2 separate regions of the Homo sapiens genome follow, and region 2 is linked to region 1. The links are contacts of gene promoters, found by promoter capture Hi-C in blood cells and fetal thymus (Javierre and others, 2016). All regions are on one chromosome and are shown on one strand. Each heading gives the region's core, a stretch centred on a gene start or on the middle of the fragment in contact. The rest is flanking DNA. Distances are from core to core; before and after follow the strand shown. Region 1 holds the start of H4C8 (H4 clustered histone 8). Region 2 overlaps LOC107986583 (a long non-coding RNA gene).

Region 1 (4,515 bases), core at 370-2,869:
AGCCTGTAGTCACTTGGGAGGCTAAGGCAGTAGAATCGCTTGAACTCGGGAGGCAGAAGTTCCAGTGAGCCGAGATCACGCCACTTCACTCCAGCATGGCGAAGGTGAGACTCCGCCTCAAAAAAGGAAAAAAAAAGCCAATCCAAATCTCCTACAAGTTTGGTCTCTAGCAAATCATTGTCCTGATGCCTGAATGTGTACTTTTTCAAAAGGCGATCATTGCTGGTTAAGAATTTAAGTTTTCGTGGCCGGGCGCAGTGCCTCATGCCTGTAATCCCAACACTTTTGGGAGGTCGAGGCGGGTGGATCACGAGATCAGGAGTTCGAGACCAGCCTGGCCAACATGGTGAAACCCCATCTCTACTAAAAACACAAAAATTAGGCGGGCGGCTGTAATACCAGCTATTCAGGAGGCTGAGGCAGGAGAATCGCTTGAAACTGTAAGGCGGAGGTTGCGGTGAGCCGAAATCGCGCCACTGCACTCCAGCCTGGATGAAAGAGCAAAACTCCGTCTCAACAACAACAAAATAAGTTATGGTGATGTTTCTATATTGCTCACTAAGCGGTACCCTACCTTTTAATATTTTCGTAATATTCAAAAACACATTTTAAGTCTATTGGAAACAATACTTGCAAGCTCTCAAGTGAACATTTATATTGTTACCCCACACTGCCTTTTGTAGACGAGTTTTGTCACCAAGTCAAAAGCAGCAGCGCGCACGCCGCCTGGACTTGGGTCTGCGATCCTACTCACGCAGATGTGTTGCGCTCACGGATTCGCCTTGGTTTAAGGCCCGCCGTCTGGGTGCGAGCTTTCTTTGTTTTTAGCCCTTCCCGCCATTTTGGAAAGGGTAACTTGCAGTCTCTCCGCGAAGTTTCCAACTTCTGTAGTCTTTGAGAACCTTACGAACGCTTCAAGCTTAAACTGAAGGAGGAAGGCCCACGGGAATTATAAACTGTCACAATCCAGCTTACTCACTGATATCTAGTGTTAAAATGCCACAAGAAAGCTAAACATATTCAACATACCAACTTCCCTCAAGCAGAAAACAGTGGCTTTAAGTACTTTATGCCCAAATCCTAAACATGCGAGATTAAGCACGAGTAATTAAACGTTACCTGCAAATCTACACATGTGCACAGTAACTACTTCTCAGCAAAAATCTGGAACAAAGCAGGATAACAAGATGTCTGCTCTTTTATGAAAAAAGTGGGCGGCCCTGAAAAGGGCCTTTGGTTGAAAATGAAAATAAGAGTGCAGCAAGCAGGAGCCTTAGCCACCGAAGCCGTAAAGAGTGCGTCCCTGTCGCTTCAGCGCGTAGACCACATCCATTGCTGTCACGGTCTTGCGTTTGGCGTGCTCTGTGTAAGTGACAGCGTCACGAATCACGTTCTCCAGGAACACCTTCAGAACACCACGAGTCTCCTCATAGATAAGGCCAGAAATTCGCTTGACACCGCCGCGACGAGCAAGGCGCCGGATAGCTGGCTTAGTGATGCCCTGGATGTTATCGCGCAAAACCTTGCGATGACGCTTAGCTCCTCCCTTACCCAAACCTTTTCCACCTTTACCACGGCCAGACATGACTAAGCAACTTCTAAAACCAACTTAAGAAACCTAAACGCCAAGGCAAAGCAACGCCCTTATATGCCGGGAATTCGGACCTAATTGAAGACTGAAAGCGCGCATACCGGAACTTTGGTCCTGCTTCTTGGCCCCACCCCGCATAGCCCAGCCCTGGATGACGTCACCAACGACTCCAGCCTTTGGCATCTGAGCGCCGGCTCCGCGGAGGCGTCTCTTGCAATTGCTGGGAAATAGGAATGAGAGTTTTAAGGCTGTTTTAACAACCAAATCAGATTAAATAAATTAACATGTTTAAATTGTTATCAATTGTTCCTTCAGTTGCTTTAGGACGATTGGAGAGGAGCCTCGGTCCACAAGACCGGAAGCCTGAGGAGTGCAGCTTTGTCCCCAAGGTCACAGTGACTGGCTTTCTGCTGCCGGCTGTAAAGCACATGCGGACCGAAACCCCCCTTCGGAAGTGTTTGAAAACTGCAAGATTTCACCCTCTCCATCACCAAGCCAAGGGAAACATAACCAAAAGGGTTTTCTTCCCGATGGCGAAGGCATGATAGGTTAGTGATTCGTGGTAGAATTATTGCCCTCCGCGCGGAGGCCTGATTCTATTCCCAGTTTGTTCTCTTCTTTCCCTGCTTATTAAAATTTGTAATTGCCATTTAAATATCTAACTGCCCCTCACAACTGCACCCAGTGTGTAGGTTTCGGGGTGGGGGTTTTTTTTTTTCCTTTTTTTAATTTTATTGAGACAGGGTCTCGCTATGTTGCCTGCCTGGGTCTTCCAAAGTGCAGTGACTACAGGCGTGAGCTACCGCGCCTAGCCCACCAGTGTATTGATATTTATTTTTCTATCCCTAGTTTTGTTTTCTGTTTGATTCTGGTGATTCCTTTTTCCAAAGTGAGTTGGCAACCTGTGGTAGCCAAAGAAGTAGGCAACTGCTCGTAGGTTTTTTCTTAAATTACGAGGTAGTCTGAACGCATCTCCTGTAAGTAGTTAAGAGTACTGTGAGACCGTGTGCCTGGCAGAACAGCAGAGTGGCGCAGCGGAAGCGTGCTGGGCCCATAACCCAGAGGTCGATGGATCGAAACCATCCTCTGCTAGGTCCTTTTTTTTTCTCCCCCCCCGTCTATTTTCCTGAGGATCCCTTTTTTTTAAGTTACAGTTTTTTAGGTTAAACAATGACGAAAGAAAACAAAATGAACCCGAGTATTTCTTTAATTCCAGAATTACAAGCATTTCCGGGAAATAATGTGAAACTACAATCTCTGCATGTACAATTTTGATTTTCATGGACACCCAAGTGTCATTAATCAATATGTCATCTGTAAACAAAGCAAATTTCTCTTGTTTAGAGGCTATACCACTGTTGCAGCCAGTTATGACAGTTGTAAGTTAACCTGCCAAGCAAGGAGAATGCTTACATAAACTGAGTGCCAAGGGTGGGGTGGGGTGGGAGCCCAGGAATGGAGTTTTATATCTTTTGATACATAATTCAGAAAGCACTATTTGCCAAGTAGTTAAGGCAATCGACTAGGAATTCCTAAATCCCCACACAGATTCTTTTCACCTACAAGGATCTTAATCTCGGAAAATGAGTTGCATTTTGAGGTGGGTGTGGAGTCTTCATAGCACTGATTGAACTCTGACCTGAGAAAAACATTTTTGCGGACCCTACTGGTAAATGTGTCTCTACTCTCTACCATCCTTTAATATCTCAAATAGAACTATTCGCTGTGCTTATTTTTTAAACATATGTGTGGACTGCTTTATGCTTCTCTCTCTCAGAAAGGATTCCTATTCAGATATTTATGTGTCACATACTGTATTAGGAACTAAGAAAAAAAAAAAACCTTAAGTAGTCTACAGTCTAGATATGCTTTTGTTGTTTTTGTTTTTTGTTTTTTGTTTGTTTATTTGTTTTTGAGATGAAGTCTCACTCTTGTTGCCCAGGCTGGAGTGCAGTGGCACGATCTTGGCTCATTGCAACCTCCACCTCCTGGGCTCAAGAGATTCTCCTGCCTCAGCCTCCCAAGTAGCTGGGATTACAGGTGCCTGCCATCACACTCAGCTAATTTTTGTATTTTTAATAAAGGCAGGGTTTTACCATGTTGGCCAAGCTAGTCTTGAACTCCTAACCTCAGGCAATCCGCCAGCCTTGGCCTCCCAAACTGCTGGGATTACAGGCTTAAGCCAACGCACCTGGCCCATATGCTTTTAAACAAGTAAATATGTAGAGTGCAATACAGTAATTCTGTGAAAGGATTGTACACTAAGTGCACTGGGAATAAGGAAAATAGTGCTTGTAATCCCATGACCACCCACTAATTCAGTAATTCACCAGAAGTAATCACATGACTCAGCATACTCTCAGTTAAGATTTATTATATCTATTGACCATTTTTTGTTTGGGTTAAAGAACATGTTTTAAAAATAAAAACAAAAAAGATTCATTACAGCACAGGATACAATGCAAGAAAAGCAGAAAAAATATGTATATACACAGGTAAATGTGGCTGTTACTATAGGACTGAATGAAGGAGGATGAACACAGAAATGAAGACAAAGACAAAAGGATTTGTTTAAAAGAAGGGGTCAAGGGGCTCCTAGCTTCTAGAGAACAAGGGCCCTGAGCTTCTACAGCCCTTCGTATTTATTAGGTAGAGTGAACAAGGAGGAAGGGGTAACTGTCGGTCAGCTACTGGATTTATCACAGGCTGACGATTGCTTTCTTTGTTCAACAGACTCTAGATATTCCTATAGATAACCTTAAGGAACACGGTGCCTGGGACGTGATTGCTCTCAGCATTCCTTCTAGTGGCAGATGCACTTGTCAGTTTGCCAGCATGCTGCTTTCATGAGAACAGTTTGCTGTTTGCTCATATACCCTCCAGTGGTATATTGAGTTGGTCACGTCCCTCATTCCTTTGGCCTC
Region 2 (4,520 bases), core at 1,165-3,664, 210 kb after region 1:
CTACCCACCCCAAACTTGGCCCTAAGACTTTTCGTTCCCAGGTACAGCAAAATTTCCTAGCATCTAAAGCCAAAAGGAACTTCCCACAGATTTCTAAGAACAAAAACTGAAACAAAAAGCAAGTTCATGATTTACTGATAATGTTTCAGTAATCAGGTATTCACAGAAGGGAACAGTTGTTTCATTGTGTGTTTCATGCACACATTCCATCTTCCTTCCGACATCTTTAACTCAAATGATAATTTTTTTTTTCATTTTCTAAATACACTCATCAAAGGGCTTGAAAAATTCTGAGTTTTTACCCCTATTGTTCCACAGACAACAAACCTTTTATAAACCCCTCCGTTACTGCAAAATGGAAAAGAGCACAATTGTGTCCAGGTCAGAGAGTCTTCACTTCTCCAGGATTCTGAGCTCCTTCCTCCCAAGGGCTCAAGGCCTCACGATATATGAAAATGAAGAATATTTGAGACCCTGTCTCTACCAAAAAAAGGAAAGTAGGGTGAAGTCAGGACAATAATGAATTCATAGGCTGCTCCTAAGATGTCTAAGTCTTGCATTTTCACATTTATCATAGCCTGTCCTCGCGCGGGAGAATGTACACCTGTTTTGGAAGGATCTACCCCACCAGGTAACAGTAAGAAAGACTAAGATGAACAGATATGGAAGATAGCTCAGAGGCTGCAATGGGATAAATTCTGGGCAGAACTCAAACAGTGGTCCACGCAACCTTGATCCCTTCCCTGAACTCTTTCTCTCTTACTCAATCCAACCTCAATTTATTGGCTCCCATAAGTTCCCTGTCTACCCCTCTTGTTCTAGGAACTCTCCATTTCAAAAGTACTTCCAAGAATATAATTCAGGGACGTCCACACTCTACCAGATCTCAGCCTTTTGCTTCCCCAGGGCAAACCCCTGCTAACCCCTCTTCCACACAGAAGTCCACCATCTTCATCTCCACACCATCTTCACTTCACTTCCCCTCCACCTTCACATATGCAAGCTGTTGTGCATAAATTACACAAATTATAATTATAACATTATACAAACTCTGTATGTATAATTTTAACACGGGCTTGGTAAATAGCGGAATTATGTCACTGTAATAATGTTGAAGCACCATTAGGTCATATCTGATTATTACTACCATATCAATAGTGTGTGCCCCCAAGAAAGAGCAGCTGACCACAAAGCTCACTAGTAAGCCACAGAAGAATACAGTATTGTACATGATGCCCATTCACCCCAGTCCTTTGTCTTGGCTCAGTATGGCCACATGTATAACAAGCCCAAGACCTTGAGCCACAACCATCCCTCAGAGGCATCTCCATAATTCATGCAAAGCTGGTAGCTGCCTCTTCACAGAAAGCTTCTGAATAAGGAGCAAGATAAAGAGCTATAGCTGGGTGGGTGCAGTGGCACGTGCCTGTATTCCTAGCTACTGGAGAGGCTGAAGTGGGAAGTCCCTTGAGCCCAGGAATTTTGAGTCCAGCCTGGGCAACATAGCAAGACCACCCCCCAACCCCACACCCTACACCGAACACCACCCCCACTCAAGAAAGAGAAAAAAAAAAAGAGCTGTAGGCAGTAGATCTTGCCCTGTGGACCTGTGGACCAGAGCAACTAGCAGTGAGAATCCTGGTCCTATTCCAGACCTACTAAATCAGAATCTCTTTTTCAGTAAGACCCAAGTGCTGCTCTGGGAAGAATGAAGAGAGGGGATTGATAAATTACCTGATATGCTTGACTATGGAAACTGTGCTTAGAGTCAATTAGAGGAGTGGGAAAAACCTGTGAGGGGAATAAAGAAAACTAAACAAAGGAACAAAAATGAATCATTTCACCCCCTCCCTACTCCTAAAAAAACAAGAGGTTGTACATGAAAATAAATGTAATCATATATGATACTTGGTCCCGTAAAACTATAGTTACATAGCCACAGTATTGGAAATATGGAACAGAATTTGTGATGTATTACTACTGGTGGTATAAGAGAGCTAAATCATAATTGATCATAATAGGGTATAGAAAAGTAATATCTAGAAATGGATATATAGAGAAATAGCAGCATAAATATGGTATTGTCTCTAGAAATATGCAGATAAGTACCAGATAAAACAACTGAGCACTTAAAGAAGCTGTTTCTGGGGATTCAGGAGTAATAGGTTGGAAGTGGGAAGTGGAACTGACATTTCTTAAAAGCACTTTGTCCCATTTGGTTTTTTTTTTAAATACATGTAATACATATAAAGAGCTTTTTTAAAAACTTTGACAGAATGATATTGTCTTGAGAAATATGTAGATAAGTACCACATAAAACAACTGAACCACATTTAAAAAGAAAAGACGTTGACTGGGCGTGGTGGCTCACACCTGTATTCCCAGCAGTTTGGGAGGTCAAGGCAGCCAGATCACTTGAGGTCAGGAATTCAAGACCAGCCTGGCCAACACGGTGAAACCCCATCTCTACTAAAAGTACAAAAATTAGCCAGGCATGGTGGTGCATGTCTATAATCCCAGCTACTTGGGAGGCTGAGGCACGAGAATCGCTTTAACCCAGGAGGTTGTAGTAAGCCGAGATTGTGCCACTGCACTCCAGCCTGGGCGACAGAGTAAGACTCCGTCTCAAAATAAATAAATAGACTCAAATGGTTGCCTCAGTGATGAAAGTCAAGTAAGATGAGAACGAGAGTAACCATTGAATTTGACATGAGGATAACACTGAGAAATTTGAACAGATTATAGTGAAAAGCAGGGAGGGGAAACAAATGCTGACATTTTATCATTAGGTTCCATATGAAGCATATCATATTCCTCAGCCCAAATGATTTCATGTCTAAGAAGAAGAAGTTTTTGTTTCTATCTCGCAGTGGGCCTGGGAAGAGCAGGAACTTCCTAAGAGCAGCACCACTTCACAAGGCCTCTCCCATTCAGGAACCATGACAGGCAGGGGCATCCTAGGGGCATCCTAGAGGTTCTGTTCTCTAAACCTTGGGAAATTTAGAGATCCTGTCTTTCATTGTGTAAGACTGATGACTTGGTTTCTGTCAAAAAGACCCAGATGCTATCCAATCAAAATAGTGTCTGTTATGCAATAGCTTGAGCTCCAAGTACTTTCTTCTTCTTTCCCCCAGACCCTTTCTTTTCAGTATGGCTCCGTTAGTTGCAAGTAAAAGCTCTTTTTCCCCCCTGAAAACAATGTCTTATGAGAATATGAAGCATGAGACAAAAGTATCATTGAAAGGGGCTGATAAGAGAAGTGAAATGAGGAAGGGGAAATAGATTATAGGTGATATGATCAGAAAGTTAAGCATGAAGAGGAAAATGGGACAGGAGCCTTTCAAACTAGGAAGGCTAAGGAACGATGGGTTTGAATGAAGCCACAAATTCTATTTCAGTCTATGTGCTGATGAGAAGACAGGGAGTAAGAACTAGGAAAGCTCAGTTTAAGAGGGGAAGACAAGCTTGGAAACAAAAGATGACAATAAACACATCTGCTTCTGAAACTAGGGCTCAGATCAGGTGTCTGCCATGAGAAAGGGACCAAGTGTCACAGGATACACCTGGCCCATCTTCCAGGAAAGCCTACTTCTCTTGGAGGGGACAAAGGCTAATCAGGAGAAGCCCTAGAAGTGAGGTTGCATCTGCTTGATGCAATGTCTGAAAGACATTGCAGAAGGTGCAGCCCTTACATGAGCTTTTGAGGGAAGAATAGGAGTTCATCATAAAGATAAGAGGGAACAGGCTAGTCGCGGTGGCTCACACCTATAATCCCAGCACTTTGGGAGACCGAGGCGGGTGTATCACTTGAGGTCAGGAGTTCAAAACCAGCCTGGCCAACATTGGGAAACCCCACCTCTACCAAAAATACCAACAAAGCCAGGCGTGGTGGGGCACGCCTGTAGTCCCAGCTACTTGGGAGGCTAAGGCAGGAGAAATGCTTGAACCTGGGAGTCAGAGGTTGCAGTGAGCTGAAATTGTGCCACTGCCCTCCAGCCTGGGTGACAAAGTGAGACTCCATCTCAAAAAAAAAAAAAAAAAAAAGTTAAGAAGAGACAGAATATTCTGGAAGGGGGAAGGCAAGCACTGCTATCTGGAGGCCTGAGAGGCATTGTGGGTTGAGGTAACCACACCCACTCCAAATTCAGCCTGTGGGTGGACAAGCAGGGAAGGAGAAGGGGAATGGAGAAAAAGCCCTCAGGAAAGAAGCAAGGAGACTGCCAGAGTATTTTCTTGACCAGATCAAGCTAGACCTACAGTATTTTCCTAACCAGATTAAGGTGCATAAACTTGATGCTGAAGTCACTAGGGAGATGTGGAAGGATTTTTAAGCAAAAAGTGATATGATCAGATTTGCATTTGGGAAAGATCATTCTCTTGGCAGTCTGGTGGGTGAAATGGAGCAACTGTCTTTTGTCTTAATCACAATTCCAACTCAAAGATAAATAACAAAACTGGGAAGAATGTTTGTTACAAATATAATACAGGATTGATATTTTTAAGTTATTAAAATTCACACA

The links. The method cuts DNA at HindIII sites, captures the fragments that hold promoters and counts their contacts. A CHiCAGO score of 5 or more calls a contact.
Region 2: a contact is called between a fragment that was not itself captured here and the fragment with the promoter of H4C8 in region 1, in 1 of 17 cell types (megakaryocytes). The highest score is 5.0, in megakaryocytes.

The regions. Positions count from the first base shown.
Region 1 is chr6:26,283,915-26,288,429 of GRCh38, forward strand. It overlaps H4C8 (H4 clustered histone 8), which reads right to left and starts at 1,620. Exons shown (of 1, transcript NM_003543.4): 1 at 1,212-1,620. The coding sequence starts at 1,585. The coding sequence ends at 1,274. It overlaps TRX-CAT1-2 (tRNA-iMet (anticodon CAT) 1-2), which reads left to right and starts at 2,612; the gene lies at 2,612-2,683. LOC124901287 (a long non-coding RNA gene) reads left to right here and starts at 1,766. Exons shown (of 2, transcript XR_007059520.1): 1 at 1,766-2,139. RefSeq lists enhancers at 461-1,196, 905-2,104, 1,197-1,932, 1,311-1,470, 1,621-2,010 and a silencer at 2,351-2,400. The HindIII fragment of the contact is 3,784 bases long and covers 918-4,515 here.
Region 2 is chr6:26,494,147-26,498,666 of GRCh38, forward strand. All of the region lies in intron 1 of LOC107986583 (a long non-coding RNA gene), which reads right to left. Among named protein-coding and RNA genes, the nearest start is that of BTN1A1, 3.9 kb to the right of the region's middle. The HindIII fragment of the contact is 2,095 bases long and covers 1,368-3,462 here.